4 separate regions of the Homo sapiens genome follow, and regions 1, 3 and 4 are each linked to region 2. Evidence: promoter capture Hi-C in 16 types of primary human blood cells and fetal thymus (Javierre and others, 2016). All regions are on one chromosome and are shown on one strand. Each heading gives the region's core, a stretch centred on a gene start or on the middle of the fragment in contact. The rest is flanking DNA. Distances are from core to core; before and after follow the strand shown.

Region 1 (3,367 bases), core at 428-2,927, 130 kb before region 2:
AGGGGCTGGGGGCCTGGACTCCTGGGTCTGAGGGAGGAGGGGCTGAGGTCTGGACTCCTGGGTCCGAGGAAGTAGGGCCTGGGGGCCTGGACTCCTGGGTCTGAGGGAGGAAGGGCTGGGAGCCTGGACTCCTGGGTCTGAGGGAGGAGGGGCTGGGGGCCTGGACTCCTGGGTCTGAGGGAGGAGGGGCTGAGGTCTGGACTCCTGGGTCCGAGGAAGTAGGGCCTGGGGGCCTGGACTCCTGGGTCTGAGGGAGGAGGTGCTGGGAGCCTGGACTCCTGGGTCTGAGGGAGGAGGGGCTGGGGGCCTGGACTCCTGGGTCTGAGGGAGGAGGGGCTGAGGTCTGGACTCCTGGGTCCGAGGAAGTAGGGCCTGGGGGCCTGGACTCCTGGGTCTGAGGGAGGAGGTGCTGGGAGCCTGGACTCCTGGGTCTGAGGGAGGAGGGGCTGGGGGCCTGGACTCCTGGGTCTGAGGGAGGAGGGGATGGGGGCCTGGACTCCTGGGTCTGAGGGAGGAGGGGCTGGGAGCCTGGACTCCTGGGTCTGAGGGAGGAGGGGCTGAGGTCTGGACTCCTGGGTCTGAGAAAGTAGGGCCTGGGGGCCTGGACTCCTGGGTCTGAGGGAGGAGGTGCCAGAGCCTGGACTCCTGGGTCTGAGGGAAGAGGGGCTGGGAGCCTGGACCCCTGGGTCTGAAGGAGGAGGGGTTGGGGACTTGGATTCCTGGGTCTGAGGGAGGAGGTGCCGGAGCCTGGACTTCTGGGTCTGAGGGAGGAGGGGCTGGGGACCTGGACTCCTGGGTCTGAGGGCAGAGGGGCTGGGGGCCTGGACTCCTAGGTCTGAGGGAGGAGGGGCTGAGGTCTGGACTCCTGGGTCTGAGGAAGTAGGGCCTGGGGGCCTGGACTCCGGGGTCTGAGGGAGGAGGTGCTAGGGGTCTGGACCTCTGGGTCTGAGGGAGGAAGGGCCAAGGTGAGGGCTGAGGGACCGTCACTCACCATCCTTGTCGCAGATAACCACTCGGGCCCCGCTGTTCACTGAGAATAGGAAGGGAACAGGTTACTCTCCGAGCCTTGGTTAAAGCCTCTGCCGCCCTCTTGTGGCCACCTGGATTGGGGCTGATCTCCCTCTCCCCTCGTGACCCCAGTCTCATGATCACCCATAGGACAGAGGGCAGACGCCTTGACACATACTCTCCTTGCCTTGTTTCTGCTGAGGCTCCTGAACCCCCGTTCGTGGCTTCCGGAGCAAACTCCACGACTGACAGAGCCATTCCTCAAACCACTGGTTTTGTAGCTACACCAACAGACCCAGAGAAAGGGGCCACTGCCTTCGGAGACCCTGCCAGACTCAGCCCTAGCCTACAGCGCCACACGCTTACTTTAGCCTGCAAATTGGCTTTTATAATATCAGAATCCTGGCTGCAGTACTGGAGTCCCTATTTTCCGCCCCCATCACCCCGCCCCCATCCTTCCTTTCTCACACTCCACAGCTCCCAGCAGTCAGACCCGGCTCACCGAAGGCGCGCACGATCCCAGCTCCGATGCCGCGCCCGCCCCCGGTCACGACCACCACCTTCCCGGCATAGCGCGTTCCCGTAGCCATCCCGTGTACGTCGGTCTCTCTCTCTCTCTACTCTGGGCCTCTTTCACCTCCAAAGCCCCGTGAGGCCGTCGCATCAAATCCTCAATAGAGGCTGGATCCTGGAAGTCCGGCCTCGGGGGGCGTTGCCAGGAAGGCTAGAGACCTGGAAGTTTGTCCCCAGCCCCTCCTCCCTCAGACACTCCTCTCTTCCCACAGACCCAGGAATCCAGGAGCCCCAGTCCCTCCTCCCACAGACCCAGGAATCCAGAAGCCTCAGTCCCTCCTCCCTCAGACTCGGGAGTCCAGGCCCCCAGCCCCTCCTCCCTCAGACTCGGGAGTCCAGCCTCCCAGCCCCTCCTCCCTCAGACCCGGGAGTCCAGCCTCCCAGCCCCTCCTCCCTCAGACCCAGGAGTCAGGGTCCCAGCCCCTCCTCCCTCAGACCCGGGAGTCCAGCCTCCCAGTCCCTCCTCCCTCAGACCCAGGAGTCAGGGTCCCACCCCTTCCTCCCTCAGACCCGGGAATCCTGGCCCAGCCCCCTCCACTCTCAGACCGAGGGATCAGGTTCTCTATCCCTTCTTCCCAGAGACCTATAAGTCCAAGCCCCCTGTCCCTTCCTCTCTCAGGACCCAGGAGTCCACGACTCCAGCTCTGCCCCTCAGAGACACCAGTGCCACAACCCCAGACAGACAGAAAGAAAGCTATTGACTAAAAGTTCAAAGTTTTAATCCAAATTTAGACAGTGTTGAGAAAACCAAACTTTGGCCATAGAAACCATTCCCCTCCCGGGCCCGCAATGGGGACCAGACCACGCCCCCTGATGCCCTGAGTGGTCCCAGATCTCCGGCGGTACCTCCAGACCACGTCCTCGCGCTCCGATTGGCTGCCGCTTTTGGGCGGATTAGAAGCTGGATTGTAGCAGAGTGACTCGCAGAGGCCATGCCCCCTCGTCTTGTGGCAGGACCGGAGGGGCGATCCCGGCATCCCACGCGGGCCCCCAGGGGGTGGGACCTCCTCCACGCCCACTCCCTCGGCGAGAGAACCCCGTGGAACCCGAATTAGCCACCGGGGGAGATCTGGGGGGAGGGGTCTCCTGGCGCGTGGGGTCCGAAGGAGGCAGCGGCACACCGGGAAGAGGGTCTCCCTGGGAGTCCAAATTTCCACCTGGAGAGGATGAGTGGGACATGAGAATGGCAAACCTCAGCGCTAGGACCCCGGATTCCCAGCCCCTCCTCCCTCAGACCCAGGACTCCGGATTCCCAGCCCCTCCTCCATCAGACCCAGGAGTCCAGGCCCCCAGCCCCTCCTCCCTCAGACCCAGGAGTCCAGGCCCCCAGCCCCTCCTCCCTCAGATCCAGGAGTCTGGATACGCCAGTCCAGTCCTCTTTGAGACTCAGTTGTCGGCCCTCTCCCCGCCCCCTGACCTCTTCCTCCCCTCCTCCCAAGTGTCCCGGACCCCAGTCACCTCTTGCCTGAGACCTAAAACTCCCAAACCCTGCCCAACTCTTTACTCACCAAGATAAAAAATTCTCACCGGCCCCCAGACCCCTCCTCTCCAGGACCTGGGATTCCAGGTCTCCAGCTCTCTCCTCCCTAAAACCCAGAAGTCCAACATCCCCAGCCAGTCACCTGTCATCATTCTGTGCCACTGCGACGCCTCAGTAGCCAGGGCTTGGGAGAGGCTGAGAACCCGCTCCCGGTGACCTTCGGAAGTCGGCAAGTAAGGGGTGGTGTTCCTTGGACTAGAAAAAAAAAGAAGATTGGGGGTGGGGGTGTGTACATGGGGGAGAGGT
Region 2 (3,180 bases), core at 256-2,755:
GGCCCGATTTGGGTCTGAGCCAGGTCTAGTTCTGAGGGTCCCACCAAAAAAGTCGGGGAGTGCCAAGGGGATGAGGTCAGCGAGTGGCCCCACCCCCATCCGTCCCCGCGGGGGCCCCTTCCCGCGCTGAGCTCAGCATGACTCAGCAGTCGCTGCCTGCAACAAGGACCCCAGATACCGGCCTGGCGGGGCATCTGCAGATCCCCTCGGTCAGGGGCTGCCCCGCCTGGGCTGTTCGGAGCAGCTCCTCTGTAGGGCAGGGCCTGACCTCACCCCACACCCCAGTGGCTTCAGCTCCCTGCCCAGCGCACGGGCTGCCTCCATCAGGGCACTTAAGTAGAGTCAAGGTTTGCGCCGACTCCGTCTCCCAGAAATCAACGTGGACCAGGCCCACTTAAAAAATATGCATTAGTCGAAGACAGACGTCTCGTCCATAGGTCCCCAGACTGTTTGTCCACAACGCAGGGCTTCTCTTTGTGGGCCTGAAGGAGCACACGTCAGGCAAGACACGAGGGCAACTTCAGAGACACTGTTCAGGGCCACGGAGAATTCTCGAAGTCTGTGAGTTGTCTCCAAAACAGCCTCCAGGAAATGCAATCCCAGAGACACCGCAAAGCTCAAAACAGACTTTTCATTCCTCCCCATTTCCACTCCCAGAAAAAGCCTGGGCCCCTGAAAGAGCTCCAAGGTATCCCCAAAGTCCCAGCCCATCTTTGGAGGGTTCCAGAGGGCTGTCCAGGGTTCCAGAAGTCACCCTACCTCATACAATGCTCCTCCTGGGCTTCCCGCACTGGGTGAAACCCACGGCTCCAGAATAACTGCCCTTTCCAACTTGCAGAGCACCTCAAGAACCTAAAGATTTCCCCGGGGAGGGCTCCAAAATATAGAGAGTTTGCATCGTGAACCCCCACCCCTGTAAATCCCAGGACTCCAGTCCCCGCAACACTCCATCTTCCAGAGATCTCCAGGGGTCCAGAAATAACACCTCACAGCCTTCCAAGCTTCCCAAGGATCCGGAGACTCCTTATCTCGCAGCGCAAACCTCAGGCAACTACAGGTCCTCCCTGCACCTTTGAGGTGCCCCTCCCCCCACTCAAGGTTCCAGAAAAATCCATGCCCTCGGAAACCCCAGAATCTTACTTTCCCGAGGCACCCCAGGACCCCAGGGTCATCAGTTCACAGGGCTGTTAGTGCTCCCATAAAACTCTAGCCTCCCAGAGGGACCCCAGCCCCCACCCTCCCGCCCACGAACCCCTGCATTTCCAGAATCAGCCCCAGGGCCCCAACCCCCCCAAGCCCCCATTTCACAACACGCTGGCGCTACAGGCGCGTGACTTCCCCTTGCTTTGGGGCGGGGGGCTGAGACTCCTATGTGCTCCGGATTGGTCAGGCACGGCCTTCGGCCCCGCCTCCTGCCACCGCAGATTGGCCGCTAGCCCTCCCCGAGCGCCCTGCCTCCGAGGGCCGGCGCACCATAAAAGAAGCCGCCCTAGCCACGTCCCCTCGCAGTTCGGCGGTCCCGCGGGTCTGTCTCTTGCTTCAACAGTGTTTGGACGGAACAGATCCGGGGACTCTCTTCCAGCCTCCGACCGCCCTCCGATTTCCTCTCCGCTTGCAACCTCCGGGACCATCTTCTCGGCCATCTCCTGCTTCTGGGACCTGCCAGCACCGTTTTTGTGGTTAGCTCCTTCTTGCCAACCAACCATGAGCTCCCAGATTCGTCAGAATTATTCCACCGACGTGGAGGCAGCCGTCAACAGCCTGGTCAATTTGTACCTGCAGGCCTCCTACACCTACCTCTCTCTGGTGAGTCCCCAGGACGCCCCTGGCCCTAATTTCCTCCAGCTGCGCACCTCCGGCCCTCACTGCACGCGCCAGCCTTCTTTGTGCGGTCGGGTAAACAGAGGGCGGAGTCCCCTTGGCCTCGCCTCCCGCTAACCATTGTTGCCTCCATCTCTTCCCGTAGGGCTTCTATTTCGACCGCGATGATGTGGCTCTGGAAGGCGTGAGCCACTTCTTCCGCGAATTGGCCGAGGAGAAGCGCGAGGGCTACGAGCGTCTCCTGAAGATGCAAAACCAGCGTGGCGGCCGCGCTCTCTTCCAGGACATCAAGGTAACTAGTGTGTGGGTAATGGACTACATCTCCCAGCAGGCCGTGCGCGCGAGGAGCCTTGATTTGAGGGCGTAGGTGTCGCGTGGGCTTCTGGGAGATTGAGTTCGGTCTTGTGAGCCCTCTTAACCGCTGGAAATAGAGGCGCACCTCGTGCAGTGCCCACAACACGCGGCAGTCCACACCGCTGCGTGGTCTTAGGGACGTATAGCTGTAAGAGCTAGGACAGGGTGCGGAGAGTGATAAATACAAGCTGTCACATGTCTTTGTGGCCTGGGCCTCTGACCCCCAACGACTCTTGGGAAATGTAGGTTTAGTTCTATGTGCCGAGTGTGTGTATTCTGAGCCATTTCTCCCTTCTATATAGAAGCCAGCTGAAGATGAGTGGGGTAAAACCCCAGACGCCATGAAAGCTGCCATGGCCCTGGAGAAAAAGCTGAACCAGGCCCTTTTGGATCTTCATGCCCTGGGTTCTGCCCGCACGGACCCCCATGTACGTACCCGCTGCATCCATGGCTACCCAACCATACCCCTCAAGCCTCTGCTCCCTTTGGGCAAATTTCCTTCAGAGCCTCATTTCACACCTGTCACATTTTAATCTGCAACTGGCTGCTCTCTCCCCCTCTTTTCCAGGGATTGGGTTTCTAATTTCTCCCTCTTCTCTCTCAGCTCTGTGACTTCCTGGAGACTCACTTCCTAGATGAGGAAGTGAAGCTTATCAAGAAGATGGGTGACCACCTGACCAACCTCCACAGGCTGGGTGGCCCGGAGGCTGGGCTGGGCGAGTATCTCTTCGAAAGGCTCACTCTCAAGCACGACTAAGAGCCTTCTGAGCCCAGCGACTTCTGAAGGGCCCCTTGCAAAGTAATAGGGCTTCTGCCTAAGCCTCTCCCTCCAGCCAATAGGCAGCTTTCTTAACTATCCTAACAAGCCTTGGACCAAATGGAAATAAAGCTTTTTGATGCAGCTGGTGGTTTTGTGTGTGGTGTGGAAGATGAGGTGGGATCTGTTCTCATAAAGCTTCTGGCTGGGTTGGGATGCCAGTGAAAGAGGAGTTGGCCCCATCTCCC
Region 3 (3,078 bases), core at 254-2,753, 200 kb before region 2:
CAACCTCTGCCTCCCAGGTTCAAGCAATTCTCCTGCCTCAGCCTCCTAAGTGGCTCAGATTACAGGTGCCTCCACCTGGCTAATTTTTTGGAGGTTTTTTGTTTTTGTTTTTGTTTTTTTTGTTTTTTTTTTTTGTTTTTTTTTGAGAGAAAGAATCTCGCTCTGTTGCCCGGGCTGGAGTGCAGTGGGCTCACTGGAACCTCCGCCTCCCGGGTTCAAGAGATTCTCGTGCTTCAGCCTCCCAAGTAGCTGGGACTTCAGGTTTGCGCTACCATGCCCGGCTAATTTTTGTATTTTTAGTAGAGACAGGGTTTCACCATGTTGGCCAGGCGGCTCTCAGAACTCCTGACCTCAAGTGATCTGCCCGCCTCGGCCACCCAAAGTGTTGGATTACAAGCGTAAGCCATTGCACCTGGCCGAAAACCAATCTGTATCATAACCCCACGGCACCTGAATCATTTCTAAGTGTACAGTTAAGTCGCGTTAAGTATATTCACATTGTTGCACAACCAATCTTCAGAATTTTTTCATCTGATAAAATTGAAACTCTCTGCCGCAATTAAATCCCACTTCCCCAATTCTCCTCCCTTCAGCTCCTGGCCACTTTTTCCAGCCCCATTTGTTGAAAACATGGTGGTGAGCTCCTTGAATGACTGAGAAGCTTTTGTACATGGACAGGAAAATTCACAACAATTTGTTTTTTTGTTAATGATCAATGAATTTTTAAACAATTATCTTTCCTTTAAACATTCACAGACTACTTCTACAGCTAAAAATAACAAGCCACAAATTTCACAATTGTAGATTTCGCCTAAATATTTGAACAGTGATTGCACATTTAATCAGTGAACTTTTCACAAATCTGATATTGTGGTTTCCCTTAAATGCCATGAATAGGAGAAAAACAGTAATACACTCTGTCATACTTTTCACAAGTCTGATATACCAGATTCTTACAAATGCTTTAAATATTTTCGAGAAGGCTGGGCAAGGTGGCTTACACCTGTAATCTCAGCACTTTGAGAGGCCAAGGTAGAAGGATCACCTGAGCCCAGGAGTTCTAAACCAGACTGGGCAACATAGCAAAAGCCCATCTCTACCAAAAAAAAAAAAAAAAAAATTAGCCAAGTGTGGTGAAGCGCACCTGTAGTCCCAGCTAGTTAAGAGGCTGAGGTGGGAGGATCACTTGAGCTGGGGAGGTCAAGGCTACAGTGAGCTGTGATCACACCACTGCACTCCAACCTGGGTGATAGAGAGAGACCTTGTCTCAAAAATAAATAAATATGGCCGGTGTGGTGGTTCACGCCTGTAATCCCAGCACTTTGGGAGGCCGAGGTGGGCAGATCACCTGAAGTCATGGTGAAACCCCGTCCCTACTAAAAATACAAAAATTAGCCGAAAGTAGCCCAGTATGGTGGCGCATGCCTGTAATCCCAGCTAATTAAGTGGCTGAGGCAGGAGAATCACTTGAACCTGGGAGGCGGAGGTTGCAGTGAGCTGAGATCACGCTATTGCACTCCAGCCTGGGCGACAAAAGCGAAACTCCGTCTCAAAAAATACCCTCCCAGAGAGCTCCCTTACCCTTTCACCAAGTGGAAACACAGCAAGAAGGTGCCAGCAATGAACAAGGAAACTGGCCCACACCAGACACAGAATATGCTGCTGCCTTGATGTTGGACTCCACACCCTCCAGAACTATGAGAGATACATATTTGTTCCTTAAGCTACACAGTCTGTGGTATTTTTGTTACAACAGCCTGAATGCCCTCTTCCAAGTCAATTCTCACCAAGCCGACATTCCAGGGCAAAGCCCGTGTTATCTTAGAGTTTGTCGTAACCACATGAATTGGGTTATTTATTTATTTATTTATTTATGAGACGCAGTTTTGCTCGTCACCCAGGCTGGAGTGCAATGGCAAGATCTCGGTTCACTGCAACCTCCTCCTCCTAGATTCAAATGATTCTCCCGCCTCAGGCTCCCGAGTAGCTGGGATTACAGGCACCCGCCACCACGCCCAGCTAATTTTTTTGTATTTTTAGTAGAGACGGGGTTTCACTATGTTGGCCTGGCTGGTCTCAAACTCCTGACCTCAGGTGATCTGTCCGCCTCGGCGTCCCAAAGTGTTGGGATTTCAGGCGTGAGCCACCGCGCCCAGTCGACTCAGAGTGTCTTATTTTTATAATACAGCCTGAAAAACTTGTTCTAAGTCATAGTATTGTAATAGGTTGGGACATGAGATGATTTCACGGCTGTTTGTTCCAGGACCTTCTCCGGGAAACGTGTGGGGCATTTCCTCTTTGTTACACACTCAGGGTGAGCCCATTTTTCCTCTACTTGTTTGGGTGAAGCTTCGCCGCTGTCTCTGCCACAAAGCTGACCCTCCAGCTCTGTGACCCCCTTGGCAGCTGGCACCAGCAGCACGGGGCCCTGGCAGGGCGCTGGCTGGCAGGAGGAGGGGTGTAGGGATTTCTCACAAGACCCTAGTTCCACACTGCGTCTTGCCAGGAGCCAGGGACAGCAATGGCTCCAGCTTCCTGTTACTTTCTGCTCTTCCGGAAGTAGATTTCCAGGCCCCTCAGAGAGAGGTCCCAGACTCCATTAGGCCACACCCTCTTGGAGGTGAGAGACCCGCTGCCTGCAGCCCACTCCCTAGAGGTCTATTTGGTTTGCATAGTCGCCGTTTTTTCATAATAAAACTTAAAAAAAAAAAAAAGACCAATTAAAACCTGTAAAACAGGTGGCAGGTGATCAGGATTAGAATGCTTTGAAATCTTTTGTTATTCTGGAATATGACAGAATGATTATATTTAGATTTGGTCACTTTAAGGATGCATGTTAAAATTTCAAGAGTGGGCCAGGCGCTGTGGCACACCCTTGTGATCCGAGCACTTTGGGAGACCGAGGCAGGAGGATCGATTCCTTGAGCCCAGGAGTTCGAGACCAGCCTGGGTAACATGGTGAAACACCGTCTCTAAAAAAACATACAAAAATGTGCCGGGCATGGTGGCACACACCTACAGTCCCAGCTACTTGGGAGGCTGAAGTGGGTGGGTCGCCTGAATTCAGGAGTTTGAGGC
Region 4 (3,072 bases), core at 86-2,585, 230 kb before region 2:
AGGATTTCACCATGTTGGCCAGACTGGTCTCGAACTCCCAACCTCAGGTGATCCGCCCGCCTCAGCCTCTCAAAGTGCTGGGATTACAGGCGTGAGCCACCACGCCCGGCCAGGACTAGTTCTTTAATTCAAAAAGACCCTTGTCAATATTCAGTATCAAAACAGTTGCACTATTGATTTCTCTTTCTCCTAATTGGCCCCAAGAGACCACATCAAAGGAGAGTACAGTTTAAGCCATTAAGCTGCAGGATGTACACCTAACAGACCTCGCAGAAACCTTACCAGAAAGTGGGGATTGGTTAGAGAAAGGAACTTTCAAAGATCAGCAAATTGCTAGTGTCCTCTAACCTACCACACAGGGCGAATCCCTTAGGCCCCTGCGGACTCCTGCCCATTCCACTGGACTCCACAAACGCTCCTCAGGATCTACTACTCCGCAGACCCCGCTACACACCCCACCTCCTCCAAGGCAGTCTGAAATGCCTGCAGAAGGCCCTAACCCCAATTCGGAGCCACTTCAGGCCACTCCAAGCCACCACCAGCAACCAGCCCCCGTCCCGCCTAAGCCCCAAGCTTGGCCCCTGTAAAACTCCTGCTCAATCAACAAGCCCCACCCAACTCTCAGGCCCGCCCATCTGGCCGCCCCCGGCCCTGCTCTAGCTCTGCCTAGAGTCCAACACGCACCGTCCAGTCCCCTCCCAGTCCCCTCCCGCGGGCCCCGCCCCCAGCCAGCCCGCGAGTCCCACAAGCCCCGCCCAGGCCCCGCCCCACGGACCCCGCCTCTCTGGCACCGAGTCCCCGCCCCAGAGCCCCGCCCGCCGCTCACCTTCGCTGTCCGCGGCCCCGAAGGCCTCCTGCTCCAGGCGCCGCGCCTCCTCGCGGCCGCGCAACTCGAAGCGCCGCGCCCAGCCGGGCCGCGCCCGCCACAGCTCCTGCACCAGCAGCGGGCGCTCGGAGTCGCCCAGCACGCGCAGGTGCTCCGCCCGCCACTCGCCGCTTCCCACGCCCGCCGCCGCGGGCCGGCCCAGAGCGTCGCACAAAGCGAAGGCGTCCACGCAGCTGCTCTCGCCGGGGCCACCGCCGGGGCTGCCTGCTAGGCCGTAGCGCTCTAGCGCCTCGGCCACGAGCTCGCGCGCCGTGGAGCGCGCCGTGGCCAGCACGCTCTTGTAGTTGGCGCCCGATGCCAGTCCGGCGCCGAAGATCTTGAGGACCCCCGGAGGCGCCGTGGCGCGGGTAGCCAGCGGGGGCTCGGGGGCCACGCCCGCCGCCAGCTCCGGCAGCTTCTTCTCGCTGGCCCAGCGCTGCGCGCCCCCCGGGGTCCCAGGGCCTCCTGCGCCGCTGGACCCCGTGGTCCCGGTCCCCGAGCCCCGGAAGAGCTGGGAGATGCGCTTGGCGCGGCTACCGGAGGCTCCCCCGGCCGCCTTGACAGCGCCCACTCGCCGCAGCTCCACGTGCGGCGGGGGCGGAGGTAGCGGCTCGCTGCTGCGGCTCCCCGTGTCCGACGAAGAAGACCTGGGAGTCCGCCGGGGAACAGAGTCGCGGGAGAGAGACCCAGGACGACACGCCAAGACGGGGGTGGGGGCATATTAGGAGGGAAGTGGGCAGAGACCCAGAGGGAGGACAGGGACCCAGGGTGGATGGACGGGGCGGGGGTGAGGGTGGGGACAGACGCGAGGCAAAGAGAGAGAGAAAAAATAAATAAATAAAGGCAAGTCCCACAGTAGGAAATTCCAAGAGGTGAGCAGGGAGGGGAGGAAGGAAGGTGAATCAATCCCCCTGCTCCTTCTGTCCCCGTCCCCGTGCCCATCCGGCCTCACTCCACCTCCTAGCCTAGCTCTTACTCCCACCGCGCCCTGGTATCACTGTGCCCCACCGTCTCCCCCTGCCCACCAGCTCGTTTGCCCAATTCAGGATGAGGACCGGAGCCAACACTTTGCAGGGACTGGGCAGTGAACAGGGACAGATGGGAAGCAGGTGTGCAGGGGCAGGAGTCCTGCAGAGATGGCACTCACTTGACAGAGGCTGCGCTGGGCCAGCGCCGCCCCAGCTTCGCCAGCTGCTTCCTGGGGGAATTGATCCACAGGCCCACGGGGAGATGAAGCTTCCCGAAGCGGGGGCTTCCGCCCTCCTTCCGTTCACCAGACAGCATGGCCCTAAGGGAAGGCGGGTAAGGCCCCAACTCCTAAGGCATTCTTGTGGGGATGGGGTGGAGGGAACCTGGACTCCGAGTCAGAGGGAGGAGGGGGCTGGGGCTCAGACTTGCGAGTCCAGGGGGAGGAGAGGGATGGTACCCTGGATTCCTGGGTCCTGGGATGGAAGATGGCTGGGGGACTGAGTCTTGGGGCCCAGGGAGGAGGGGTTTGGGCTGCTGGGTCCCTGGCTCTTACCCTGCTTCGGGTCCGGCACACCCGGAGGCCCTGGCTCCACTGGCCTGGGTCAGTTCCACTGCTCTTGCCTCTGCCACGGCTCCCAGCACTGGGTGGGGGACAGGAAAAGGCAAGAGGAAACCCGGCAGGAAGAGCGGGGAGGGGGCGTCCTGTGAGGAGACCAGGCCTGGGGGAGGAGATCTGGGTAGGGTTGGCCCTGCCCCATTCCTTGATTCTGGAATTACATCGCAGTCAGTTGGTCCCCTCCAGGACCCAAGGGTCCCGGTTTTCTGCCCTTCCTCCCTCAGGCCGGAGCCCATCCCCAGACCTCTCCTCTCGGGGAACCAAAGGCTAGAATCAGTCCCGTCCCGGGGAGTGAGTCAGATGCTTAGACAACAAGATAAATCTTTATTGTTGCCTCGAATCTGTGGCCTTTTCTTTTGGGACCTGGGTTTGCTCGGCCGCTCCACTGCCAAGGCCAAACAGTGAGGATTTGATGAAATCGATCACCTTCCTTCGACGAAATATCCTAGGGGTGGGAGTGGGGTGCAGATCATGGAACCGGTTTGGGTACTAATTGTGTGGGGGACACCCCTCCCAACCTCCCCCTTTGTGACCTTATTCTAGCAATTACCTAAGCCTCGCCCTTCGAAGTCCTCCTATTCAAGCCCCCCGCACTCCATCCCCAGGAAAGTCCTGCTCTCAG

The links. Contacts are between HindIII fragments. The CHiCAGO score rates a contact against its expected background, and 5 or more counts as called.
Region 1: the fragment with the promoter of HSD17B14 here is called in contact with the fragment with the promoter of FTL in region 2 in 15 of 17 cell types (endothelial precursors, erythroblasts, activated CD4 T cells and 12 more); the score reaches 13.6 in endothelial precursors.
Region 3: a fragment that was not itself captured here is called in contact with the fragment with the promoter of FTL in region 2 in 2 of 17 cell types (endothelial precursors and erythroblasts); the score reaches 7.5 in endothelial precursors.
Region 4: a contact is called between a fragment that was not itself captured here and the fragment with the promoter of FTL in region 2, in 3 of 17 cell types (endothelial precursors, erythroblasts and naive CD4 T cells). The highest score is 8.7, in endothelial precursors.

What each region holds. Positions count from the first base shown.
Region 1 is chr19:48,834,814-48,838,180 of GRCh38, forward strand. HSD17B14 (hydroxysteroid 17-beta dehydrogenase 14) reads right to left here and starts at 1,678. Exons shown (of 9, transcript NM_016246.3): 1 at 1,511-1,678; 2 at 992-1,030. The coding sequence starts at 1,598. It overlaps PLEKHA4 (pleckstrin homology domain containing A4), which reads right to left. Exons shown (of 20, transcript NM_020904.3): 19 at 3,204-3,316; 20 at 2,284-2,738. The coding sequence ends at 2,476. RefSeq lists a silencer at 2,586-2,655. The HindIII fragment of the contact is 28,283 bases long and covers 1-3,367 here.
Region 2 is chr19:48,963,804-48,966,983 of GRCh38, forward strand. FTL (ferritin light chain) reads left to right here and starts at 1,506. Exons shown (of 4, transcript NM_000146.4): 1 at 1,506-1,806; 2 at 1,967-2,113; 3 at 2,478-2,603; 4 at 2,780-3,076. The coding sequence starts at 1,705. The coding sequence ends at 2,932. RefSeq lists a cis regulatory region at 1-405, enhancers at 87-196, 1,746-1,795 and a silencer at 1,336-1,495. The HindIII fragment of the contact is 1,823 bases long and covers 1,000-2,822 here.
Region 3 is chr19:48,768,694-48,771,771 of GRCh38, forward strand. No RefSeq gene overlaps it. Among named protein-coding and RNA genes, the nearest start is that of FGF21, 15 kb to the left of the region's middle. The HindIII fragment of the contact is 1,688 bases long and covers 660-2,347 here.
Region 4 is chr19:48,738,134-48,741,205 of GRCh38, forward strand. It overlaps RASIP1 (Ras interacting protein 1), which reads right to left and starts at 2,477. Exons shown (of 12, transcript NM_017805.3): 1 at 2,388-2,477; 2 at 2,013-2,153; 3 at 827-1,512. The coding sequence starts at 2,149. It overlaps IZUMO1 (izumo sperm-oocyte fusion 1), which reads right to left. Exons shown (of 10, transcript NM_182575.3): 10 at 2,719-2,895. The coding sequence ends at 2,775. RefSeq lists a silencer at 693-1,212, an enhancer at 730-1,269 and a cis regulatory region at 2,330-3,072. The HindIII fragment of the contact is 1,528 bases long and covers 572-2,099 here.